Regions from separate parts of the Homo sapiens genome. Here regions 1, 2 and 3 are each linked to region 4. The links are contacts of gene promoters, found by promoter capture Hi-C in blood cells and fetal thymus (Javierre and others, 2016). All regions are on one chromosome and are shown on one strand. The core of a region is centred on a gene start or on the middle of the fragment in contact, and the rest is flanking DNA. Distances in the headings are between cores, read along the strand shown. Region 1 holds the start of RNASEL (ribonuclease L). Region 2 overlaps DHX9 (DExH-box helicase 9). Region 3 overlaps DHX9 (DExH-box helicase 9). Region 4 holds the start of TPR (translocated promoter region, nuclear basket protein).

Region 1 (2,992 bases), core at 427-2,926, 3.8 Mb before region 4:
ATATAAATATATTCTTACCAGAGATAGGTGGCTTCCAAAAAAAAAAAAAAAAGACCATGAAAATATGCACATCAATTATTTATCAATAAAAAAAGAAGAACCCTCATTCAATAAGAAAAATATATTTCTTGGCTTTTTTTCCCTTTGCATTTCTTATGTCACCAGGAAGGTTGATCACTGTGTTTGCTGACTCTGTGCATGTCCTCTTTGTACAACCCTGTGCCCCTATTTAAAGTACAGACAATATCTGACTTATGTTTTTTGACTTTGATTTATGATTTTTTGACTTTGCAGTGGTGGAAAAGCAATAAACATTCAGTAGAAACCACACTTCAAGTACACATACAACCATTCTGTTTTTTATTTCAGCATAGCATTCGATAAATACATGAGACATTTAACACTTTATTATAAAATAAGCTTTGAGCTAGATGATTTTGCCCAACTGTAGCCTAATGTAAGTGTTCTGAGCACATTTAAGGTAAGCTAGGATAAGCTATGACGTTCAGTAGATTAGGTGTATTAAATGTGCTTTTGACCTACAATATTTTCAATTTAGGATGGGTTTATCTGTATGTAACCCCATCATAAGTCAAGGAGTATCTGCAGTAGTGAAAAGAGCTTGTACTCTGACCTTAGGGAGATCTAAGTTTGAGCTTGTGGCTGTGTAATTTTTTACTATTACTTCCTGTAACCTTGGATTGTTGAATCTCAATTTTCTATTTCCTGAAATGGAGACAAAAATAAATACAGTCATGTGTGTAAAGTACATTAAAGTATGGAGTGTTGCAAATATTAGCCACTCAATGAATGTTAGAGCTAATTATATCCCGTTATGAAAAAATAAATTGCTTAGTGAATTCTATTCTCCCTACACATGTGCATATAGCTACTACACGAATAGGCAACTGGCAGCTATCAATTTCGTCCAACTGTCAATCAGATCTGAGAATTACAGATCCAGTTCAATCATCAGACAGCCCGAAACTGTTACCTGAATATTTAAATAACTGCATCTGCTATAGAATTCACGAAGCAACCCTTTTTCAGCAATCTCACCACTCTGACAGTTTCAAAGCCTCAGAGGTTAATTGATTAGCCTCTTAGAAGTTTAATTAATTGTGCAACACATACACGATCACCAGGCAATGAAATCTTTGAACCAAAGTGTTTGTGTAGACCGTCCCCATTACAATCAGATGTGAGGTGGGCTGGTATAAACAAAGGAGCCGGGAAGGAGAGGAAATATCAAGGAAGCCCTGAGTGACGCATCAGAGTAGAGAAGAGACGAGCCTGCGGAAGTACTCCAACAGACAATCCTGCTTTCAATTTCACTTTCTCTGTGCGACCTGAGTAAGTCGCAAAGAGATGCCTGAGAAACTGAGGACATGGATAAATGACGTGTGGACTCTGACAGAACTCTGGAAGGGCACTGGAGGAAGATCCTTCCGGGCAGCCAAGGGCTGGGAGCTCCCCTCCCACTTCCCAAGTCCTCCAGCCCCTGGCCTCTCCAGTCTCCAAAGCCCAAGAATTCTTCAGGATCGACTTATCGAGGTTTTCTAGCTTTCCTCCTTCTGCCTGCCTTACCTGCTCAACTCAGACGTCTCAATTATTCCTTTGGCAGCCGCAAAGCCTGGAAGACTGCTTGCAGCCCGAGCAGTTTCCTCCTGCTGCGTCACTGAGTCAGCAGGGCGGAGCCAAGAAAGGAGTGAGGAGTGTGGGAGGGAAAGCAGCCACAGGCTCACTCTGGCACCAGGAGCAAAGCTTCTACTTGCACACCTTCTGGAGGAAAGCAATAGCCACTTTCTGTCTGCTGATGAGGAATGTGATGCCCGGGGTCATGTCACTCACCTCTCAGTCTTGCAGCCTTTCAGGTGGCAGCAGCCAACTGCATCCATCACTCTTGCATCCTTTCTTTGTCATTGCAAATTCTGGTCTTCTTGGAAGAAAGGAATGGAAAGTAAACACATATTGAGCACCTATTGTGTTCCAGACACAATGCTTTACATGCAGCATGGTCCCAGTTAACCCCTGACAATCTTGTTGATTATGAAACGCAGGCTCATAGAAGCTAAGTAAGCCCAAAGCCCAAGCCCTGTCACCTTTCTCAGCTCACTCAACTCACAGCTCTGAGGCAGTGCGGCCTTCTCAGAAGGGTACCGGACTGGCAGTCTGGAGACCTGATCCTACAGCCAGCTCTGTGGCTGCTTAGCTGAGTGACCTCAGGCATGTGATTTAACCATGTAGGGCCTCAGTTCTCTCCTATAACTTGGTTTTGAAGGTTCCTTTCTGCTCTACAAGTTCTGTTCTTGACTATCTTCCTAGCAATGAGCTGTGTACTGTGTACTTAGTGCTGTAGTGGAAAGTATTTCCATCCCCAAAGAATACCCAGTCTTGCTGGGGAGACAAAGCCCTGGGACTTGTGAACAACAAGTAGTGCATGGTCACTTGACGACCACCTGTGTCACACCATCCAGACCCGGGGCCTCTACCACCCCTTATACACCAGGGATTCCCAGGCCTCGCTCTCTAACCCCAGCCTCTCTGCTGAGCTTTAGACCTACAAATCTTGAATATGTGTCAAATGGAAATACTCATCTTTTCCTAAATCTGCCCCTCCTCCCACTTATTCCATCTCCACAGATGGCACCATCACCCGGAGGCCACCCCTCATCCTCATCCCAACACCAAGTCTCTTGCTTTCATCTACAAAGGGATGACCATTCGAGTCCTTGTCATCATTTATAGCAAGAAATTGATGACTTGCTTCCTAGCCCTTCATCCATTGTTCCACCCTGCATCATTGACCCACCATCATTTTCAGGACAAAGTTCAAAAATCCTTAACCCATTATTCATTTAATTAATACTTGTTGGACAGGCGTGGTGGCTCACACCTGTAATCCCAGCACTTTGGGAGGCCAAGGCAGGCAGATCACCTGAGTTCAGGAGTTCAAGACCAGCCTGGCCAACATGGTGAAACCGCGTCTCTA
Region 2 (2,978 bases), core at 185-2,684, 3.5 Mb before region 4:
CTTTATGACATCTAACATAGAAAAAAACCAACCCATGTTTCTTGATGAGCTGTAGTACTTTTCTTTTCCAACTAGGTTAAAATATAGAATTACTTCCTAAAACATTGAGAACTGGAATGCATAACCAGAAATAAGACTGTTGAGAGACAGAAGGTAGTTGGGCAAGATGGTAAATTTTTAAAGGCTGTAATTGGAATAACTAAACAAAGTAGTGAGTGGTTCTCTTCTGTCATAAGCCAGCCGAAATTTTAGTTTTTCCTCAAAATTATAAGAAAGGGAAAACTTCATGTGCTAGAATCTTGAGATGAATTTTACAGGTAATGAAACAGGCACCAAGGTATAAATTGTCTTTAATTCATCCAATTAGGAGGCTATAAGACTAGAACTCGTTTGTCTAGAACAAAATATGTCTGTGCTTTCAGCGGTTGACTGTCATGCTTTCCAGTCAGTAGCTAAGTACTCAAAGTGTAGACTGGGTAAAAACGTCAGCCTTCATTCCAGTAGGTGTCCTCTTAGATTATCTCCATCTTCTCTACAACTAACAGCTATTTAAGAGTAGCAGATAAATACTTTGTGGTCCTATCAGTCAAGCTCTTATTCTCAGAGTAGATGGTTGATTGGGGGACTTTAAAAAGTAATCACCCCGGCCGGGCGCAGTGGCTCACACCTGTAATCCCAGCGCTTTGGGAGGCCGAGTCAGGTGGATCACGAGGTCAGGAGATCGAGACCATCCTGGCTAACACGGTGAAACCCGTCTCTACTAAAACTACAAAAAATTAGCCGGGCGTGGTGGCGGGTGCCTGTAGTCCCAGCTACTTGGGAGGCTGAGGCAGGAGAATGGCATGAACCCGGGAGGCAGAGCTTGCAGTGAGCAGAGATGGCGCCACTGCACTCCAGCCTGGGCGACAGAGCGAGACTCGTCTCAAAAAAAAAAAAAAAAAGTAATCACCCCAAGCTTATTTATGGTTGAGTCTATAAGAGAATAGAGACGTTTTCGTTTTCTTATTGTGGAAACTCAGTAACATTACTCCTTGAACTTAATCTGGGTGTAAGGATTCTGAGAAGAGAAAGTTTTACAGACAGGTTATGTGAAAAGAGTGAGGAAGAGTCAGTTCTCTGAATTATCTTAAATAGTTTGCATGTAATGTGAAGATCAGCCAGTTATCTGATTTTTGTTTTCACTGTGCTCCTCTTAACAGATTGTTTGTTGACACAAGTGTTTACTAACACTGGACCAGATAATAATTTGGATGTTGTTATCTCCCTCCTGGCCTTTGGTGTGTACCCCAATGTATGCTATCATAAGGAAAAGAGGAAGATTCTCACCACTGAAGGGCGTAATGCACTTATCCACAAATCATCTGTTAATTGTCCTTTTAGTAGCCAAGACATGAAGTACCCATCTCCCTTCTTTGTATTTGGTGAAAAGGTAAGAAAAGACTAGAAAAGTTTACATTGAAAGTTGAAATTGTCTTTACAATCATTAGGAACATGAATTTTGATTTTCAAAGCACAGTATATAGCGGTATTTGGAAGTTGGAATGTCAACCATTTTGTATTGTCTCTTTCTCCATTTGCAGATTCGAACTCGAGCCATCTCTGCTAAAGGCATGACTTTAGTCACCCCCCTGCAGTTGCTTCTCTTTGCCTCCAAGAAAGTCCAATCTGATGGGCAGATTGTGCTTGTAGATGACTGGTATGGATTTTCAGATGTGAACTCCAAACTGAATTCTTAGAATTACAATATGATGGAATTCAGCTGCTAATCTAACTTAATTATATACTAATTATATCTAACTTAATTATATACTATATACTTAATCTTAAATTGATACCAGTAGAAGCAAATGCATTAGGAATTTGAGCCATGTCTACCACTAGGCACACCACCACTATGGAATCAGAATCTAAGTGAAGCTTGAGTACCCTTTCACATACTCTGTATATTGATTCAAAACTAGTGGTAAGCACTGGGCAAAAATGGAATAGAGCTTAATGGACAGCCAGTAGGCTCAGCCATCATATTCTTGAAAACCTAGAAAATGCCAGTATTCTGGGTCTCTTAAATTCATTATTTTAAAGTCTGGATGATCTGGCTGGGTGCGGCACATCACTTGGGCTCAGGAAGTTCAAGATCAGCCTGGACAACATGGTGAAACCTGTCTCTACGAAAAATCCAAAAAAATTAGCCCCGTGTGGTAGCGCACACCTGTAGTCCCAGCTATTCTGGAGGCTGAGGCAGGAGAATCACTTGAACCTGGGAGTTGGAGGTTGCAATGAGCTATCACGCCACTGCACTCCAGCGAGGGCAACAGAGCAAGACTCTGTCTCAAAAAAAAAGAAAGTCTGAATGATCCATATTGCTGGACTTTGTTTTTTGTTTATTATATATTGCATATATTTTTATTATATTTTATTTGGCTTGATAGACTTTTTGGCTTAAGACTCCTGCTCATAGCTAGCAGTGAATTTTAAGAAGCTAGTGCTGATTATAACTACTCTTCATATCTGTGTTTGCCTAAGTTTGGGGCCATTATAAGTAGTTTTTTTTTTTAATATTAATGCTTAAGAAGTTAAATTTATTCTATAATGTGCCATGTGTGAAGTTGAGAGATAATGGTCTTTTTCTACATATACTCCCTCTCTTATTTTTAATGTATTTCGCCACTTTAGGATTAAACTGCAAATATCTCATGAAGCTGCTGCCTGTATCACTGGTCTCCGGGCAGCCATGGAGGCTTTGGTTGTTGAAGTAACCAAACAACCTGCTATCATCAGCCAGTTGGACCCCGTAAATGAACGTATGCTGAACATGATCCGTCAGATCTCTAGACCCTCAGCTGCTGGTATCAACCTTATGATTGGCAGTACACGGTGAGTACCAATATACTTCTTACTGAACCAAGTAGAGGGGAGAGATCTTATGTAGGCCTAGAATTCCTGAAGTTAGTGATAGAAGCCCTATTACTTAAGTAAAA
Region 3 (2,991 bases), core at 275-2,774, 3.5 Mb before region 4:
AAAAATGGCGTGGTGGCTCACACCTGTAATACCAACACTTCGGGAGATAGAGGCAGGAGGATCTCTTGAGTCCAGAAGTTCAAGACCAGCCTCAGCAACATAGACCCCATCTCTACAAAAATAAAATAGAAATATTAGGTGGGAATGGTGGTGGCTGCCCGTAGTCCCATCTACTCGAGAGGCTGAAGTGGGAGGATCACTTGAGCCCAACAGGTTGGGGCTGCAGTGATCTGTCATTGCACCATTGCACTCCAGCCTGGGTGATGCAGTGAGACCCTGTCTCAAAAAAAAAAAAAAAGGTTTTAAATGGGAACAGATTGTGAGAATAGAAAAAGAAATAAATGGACTATAGCATTGCCAATGTTGCTAAAATCTGTGTATTTTTGTTTAGATAGTTACATGTGTATTTTAATGTGATAAAATATATATTGTGTATACTATTTTATAACCTACTTGAAAAAGTATTTTCTCACATTGCTGACTCTTCCTTAGGCAGAGCCAAGATTATGCACTGTGACACTTTCAATACTCTTATACCTCACCTATTTTAATTGATTTTGAAATGTTAAAAAAGGAAATCCTCCCCATCACTGGAAAATAGAAGTTACATCAGACACCTCAATTCTCATACGTTAGGAATTTTCTTTTAGGTTGGTGTAGATAGAGAGTGAGGTGGAGGGGAATTTGAGGTCCTGGAGTGGCAAGGTGGTAGAAAGAGGAGGACAAGTTAGCATTGTGGTGCCAGGACTGCCCAGTGAATTTTTCCTGTGCCTTGGTTATTAGGGCTGACCCTTGAATAGGTTCTACTTTGTCTCCATAACCCCAACCTTGGAGGAACACTATCCTTCAAGGTATAAGCTCTCTAGAAGAAAGCAGAAAAGAAAAAAATTCACAATGTACTAATAACACAACATTAGACATGTTGCTATATATATTGGCAGAAGCAAAGTGGTAATGTGAAAAAGTAACAAAGCGCCCAAAAAACCCTAAGAGACAATTGGAAATTTGAATTTAGATCTAAGTGAAAATTTTAAATTATGATCATAGACTATTTAGATAAGTGTCTGGCAAAACTCTGGAGTGGTCAGAGGAACAATCATTTATTCAAAATAATAATAGTTATACTATTGCACAAAAAACAGCTTTTTGAATGAATTAGCTTTCATCTCAGAATGAAACAGGAGAAATTAATAGCGATAAAATCAGAAATTGCTGAATTAGAAAGTAAAAATAAGTCAAATTTTTAAATGTTCTTTGCAAACAGAAATAGTTCATCCCATCTAGTTAAGGAAAAGGTTGTATAGATCTCAGTTCTTCATCCTAAAACCCATGTGGTTAGATGGGTTTAAGAATTCAGAATTTTCCTTAGTTTAGAAAACCAATATATTTTATGTAACAGCACATCTGAGGCAAAACCCTGTAATTAAACTTTCTTAATACGTAGTACTAATGATCTTATAAGAGAAAAATATCTATTCCGTGATCATCTTAATAAAGGCTTTTGAAAAAGTATTTGATAAAATTAAACACTAATGACCAATAAAATACTTAAGAAATGGAGTAGAAAGATACTTTTTTGACTGCTTTAAAAGGTGTTAAGGTAGTAAACACTACTAAAAATGAGCCCCAGAGCAGTGTTACTCAAAATGTTACAGTTTGTGAGGAGGTAAGTACAGAAATGAGTAAACATTTAGAAATACAGTATTGTGACAGGTTGTTCCCAGTGGATTAGGGGAAACAACCAGTTCTTCATTGCAGACATTTTGAGATGCACTGCTCTAGAGACTTAACCTCTAAACAAAGATGGTAATATTACAAAGAAAGGAGGTATGACACATGGGTCCTTTTAAGTATTAAAAGAATTTACTAGTCCCCGTGAAGGCAAAAGCACTGACAGCTGCCTTGACTTTTTCTTTTGCAGGTAGCATCTCCGCCCCCACTTACTGATACTCCTGACACTACAGCAAATGCTGAAGGAGATTTACCAACAACCATGGGAGGACCTCTTCCTCCACATCTGGCTCTCAAAGCAGGTAAGGGACTTGAATCCATGCACGTGGTGGAGAATAAGATATACACAATCTTGATCACCATCTCTGTTTCTCGTTTTGGGTAGAAAGAACTGCAGTAAACTCTTGATGTTAAGAGACAACCCAAGGCCTTCATAAATTTGCACATATTACCAGATCATTTATTTTTTTCTTAGAACATGTGGTACAGCATAGTTCTTTGCTGTCATTGGCTTTTACTACATTTTTCTCTGAATAAATAGGTTTTCCACAGGCTAGAATATTTGGTGAAAGAATCTTATGAATTGCCTTTTCTTGTTCCTTATTCTTACTAAATATATTGTTGACTTGTTTGTTTACCCTGTGGATCCAGGCCATTGCAGAATGACTTACAGTAGGTCCTTGAATAACTTTGTTTCCTTCAATGTTATTATCTTACAACATTGCTTATAGTCTTCGTTTCCAAGAACCTAGCAGCGACATTAATTGAGGATTTACTGTATAGTCACAGCTTTTATTGGGATGTCTACCATATGGTAGATTAGGATTTGGGTCATATTGCTTAAGTCTCATATTTACTGTTTATTGAATAGCAGTAGTATCTACTTCATATGATTGCTTTTTGAGGCAGAGTCTTGCTCTGTCACCCAGACTGGAGTGCAGTGGTGCAATCTTGGCTCACTGCAACCTCCACCTCCCAGGTTCAAGTGATTCTCTCACCTCAGCCTCTCTAGTAGCTGGGATTACAGGCATATGCCACCATGCCCGGCTAATTTTTGTATTTTTAGTAGAGACGGGGTTTCACTATGTTGACCAGGCTGGTCTCAAACTCCTGACCACACGTGATACCCACCTCAGCGTCCGGAAGTGCTGGGATTACAGATGTGAGCCTCCATGCCCGGCCATAAATTAGGATAATTCTTTAATGTATTTAGGATTTTTCTACAGTTATGACTCATTAAGAGAATTTTTTTTCTTTTAA
Region 4 (2,700 bases), core at 32-2,531:
AGACATTCAATATTTATGGTGCAAATTAATAAATAGAATGCAATGTACTATACTCAGCTCTGGGATCAGAGAACTAATTTTCAAGGTCAATTCTGCTTGACAGTTACACTTTTTTTGAAGTAAAAACTTGTTCAGAATTTCCAGTCAACTTAGCAAGAACAGTATGAACCTCCCCAAACAAATGGTAAACCAAAACACATTAACGGGAAGTTTGTATTTTACTAATGGTAATGACTATATTCTTCATATTTTTTTCAAGGATGTTCAAGCCATTATTGTCAGTAACTTTCTTACTTAAAGGCCTACTTTAGGTAATTACAAGAAAATTTTAATGTTTTCTATCAAACTCCAACTTTTTAAGAGAAATCAAGATATATTAAATTTATGTACTGCACATTCACTGTGTTTCCAGCGCTCTTATGCACCTAATATTCATTTTTGTAAACATCTGATTCGTTCTGGAGCCACGGGACGACGCACACACTAAGAACAAGTGCACAGAGTGGTCAATTTGGCAAAGGCCTAGAATGCAGGTGCCTAGAAAATAGGGCGGAGCCACTATCAGTTGAAGTGCAACAAAACATATAAGGTACTCTAGGCTTAGAGAGATGGGTTCGCAGACTCTATCAAGTCTGTTTCCCGTCTGCCGGACGAAGGAAAATAAGCGTCCCTGTATGAGCCTACCCTAACTACAAAGAAAATGCTACTGAACTTAGATTCAGATTTTTTTTTCAAAGGCTTCTTATCAAACTGTAAGGAGCAGGAAAGCGAAGGCTCAGGATATCCACAGAGCCCAGGAAGTGAGGTTAACAGAGCGGTACCCAGTGCCAACTTGATGGGGGAAGACCAGACCCAAAGGGCGGGAGTCGAGCCCAAAACCAAGGACGGAAAGAGCATCTCACTTACCGCTCTCCACCTTAAATTTCTCATGCCGCCCCTTCAGGCCATCGATCTCGGATTGCTGATCAGCAAGGAACTTTTCAAGTTTGTTCTGGACAGACTTGGGCAGCTTGTTCAGCTCCGTGCGCTCCAGGACTTGCTGCAACACCGCCGCCATGTCGGTGGGGCCAGGGACCCCAGTGGCAGCGGCCGACGGGGTAGAAGCGGAGAAGAAAGGCGAAGACCAGCAGGACCCAGACGCCTGGGCCGCCGCCTCTATCACCTCGCTCGGTGGCTCGCGCGCGCCCGCCCGCCGGAGACTCCCGCGGCGGGACCCTGGGAAATCGAGTCCACCCTCAGCGGCAGCGTTTCAGCAACAGCACCTCACCGCCCGCGACCGAAGTGCGCGCGCAGCCGTTGGAAGCTACGAACCCTGGGAACCCGAGCTCAGAGGCTATCCCTGATCCTCTTGCGCACCCAATTTTCCGGCTTCCAGCTCCACCCACTTCAGGCCTTGTAGGGCTCTGGGAAATGTAGTGTTTTTCTCATTCTTTTCCGGGAGCCCAATGCTGCACCGCCCTCTCAGCTTCCGTTTTTCTCCCCGCTCCCCTGGCTCTCCTATCTCGGCCCCGTAACCGCTGTCCGCACGGTGGCGCCACATACGTACTCGTCACCCCTTGGCCCTCCCTGAAGAGCTGGTGACCTTACCGTCAAAGCCCCGGGATGCCATGGATCGTCCTCGTTGGCGGCTTCTGGACACTGAGCCACTAGAGGGCATCGGTCCCGGTAGGGCCGGACGGCAGGCTCCGGGATACCGCCACGCTCTCTATGGCGCCCAGAAGGGGGCGGGGTGGCGACCGCAGTCGCTTTGGCTGAGGCTCTGCGGGGAAGGGAGGGGGGGCTTTTACGTCATCAATCTGCGCCACCTGACTCCCAAGTCCCTGGCTTTGGAGTGGGAAGTGAGGTGTGGGAAGTAGGTCGCTTTCTGATGAATTCAGTGGCAGTGAATTGAGACCGGAGGGAATCTGGCCCCTAGAGGCTGGTACTTGGGCCCGAAACCCCCATCTCCGGCGGAGAGACCGTCCGAGGTAATTGTCTGCCACGAGTGCACATTCTGAAAACAGGTAAGTCAGCCTAAGTGTAGTGTGTGTGTGTGTGTGTGTGTGTGTGTGCTCTCTTTTCAAGAGAAAAAGGAAGGGACAGTGTTGGAACCATATGGACAGTCACTCCGGCACACACTTCTGACGAACTTACCTTGTGTGAAACGGCGTACCTAAATGGTTTTTGGTGGTGGGGAGGTGGCACTGAGTGATTCAGTACCCGGGAATTTAAGGACCCGGGTTAATTCTTCAGGAGGAGAATTAAAAGAAACCGGTAGCACTTTGAGTGTAGCCTATGTTTTAAATTTTTCGTTGCAGAAACGGTTACCTAACATTATATTGTTTTTAAAATTGAAAACTGTTGTAACTGAAGTTTTTAAACACATTGTTAATTTCTACAGTAACAGAACTTGTATGGTTCCAGATCATAATTCTGTAGTTTTAAAGCTCAATCCGTAGATTGTTTCGTGTTTACTCTTATGAAAGAATTTGTTAAATTATTCATTGTAAATAATGCATTCCCAGTGTCGTCTCTCTGCAGTTCCCACAGTCGTGGGCCTTCTGTGAATTGGTGATTTAGTTCTTATATGAAATTTATTCTTTTTCTCTAGTTCTTACTTTTGAATCATGTTGTGAAGCCGTCTAAGAAATATAAATGGAAGCATTTTATGATATTTTGTAATAACTAAGGAAAAATAAATCAACAGCGGAGCTTAAGGTT

What was found. Contacts are between HindIII fragments. The CHiCAGO score rates a contact against its expected background, and 5 or more counts as called.
Region 1: the fragment with the promoter of RNASEL here is called in contact with the fragment with the promoter of TPR in region 4 in 2 of 17 cell types (total CD8 T cells and total CD4 T cells); the score reaches 6.2 in total CD8 T cells.
Region 2: a contact is called between a fragment that was not itself captured here and the fragment with the promoter of TPR in region 4, in 4 of 17 cell types (total CD4 T cells, naive CD8 T cells, monocytes and 1 more). The highest score is 11.5, in total CD4 T cells.
Region 3: a contact is called between a fragment that was not itself captured here and the fragment with the promoter of TPR in region 4, in 6 of 17 cell types (total CD4 T cells, monocytes, total CD8 T cells and 3 more). The highest score is 13.9, in total CD4 T cells.

What each region holds. Positions count from the first base shown.
Region 1 is chr1:182,587,580-182,590,571 of GRCh38, forward strand. It overlaps RNASEL (ribonuclease L), which reads right to left and starts at 1,677. Exons shown (of 7, transcript NM_021133.4): 1 at 1,588-1,677. RefSeq lists an enhancer at 1,393-1,552. The HindIII fragment of the contact is 1,344 bases long and covers 419-1,762 here.
Region 2 is chr1:182,881,940-182,884,917 of GRCh38, forward strand. DHX9 (DExH-box helicase 9) reads left to right here. Exons shown (of 28, transcript NM_001357.5): 25 at 1,200-1,429; 26 at 1,581-1,696; 27 at 2,674-2,874. Among named protein-coding and RNA genes, the nearest start is that of DHX9-AS1, 44 kb to the left of the region's middle. The HindIII fragment of the contact is 962 bases long and covers 954-1,915 here.
Region 3 is chr1:182,850,312-182,853,302 of GRCh38, forward strand. DHX9 (DExH-box helicase 9) reads left to right here. Exons shown (of 28, transcript NM_001357.5): 4 at 1,922-2,033. Among named protein-coding and RNA genes, the nearest start is that of DHX9-AS1, 12 kb to the left of the region's middle. The HindIII fragment of the contact is 3,288 bases long and covers 1-2,991 here.
Region 4 is chr1:186,373,972-186,376,671 of GRCh38, forward strand. It overlaps TPR (translocated promoter region, nuclear basket protein), which reads right to left and starts at 1,282. Exons shown (of 51, transcript NM_003292.3): 1 at 907-1,282. The coding sequence starts at 1,057. It overlaps ODR4 (odr-4 GPCR localization factor homolog), which reads left to right and starts at 1,867. Exons shown (of 14, transcript NM_017847.6): 1 at 1,867-2,003. RefSeq lists a silencer at 417-466 and enhancers at 1,027-1,326, 1,487-1,536, 1,707-1,896. The HindIII fragment of the contact is 6,872 bases long and covers 1-2,700 here.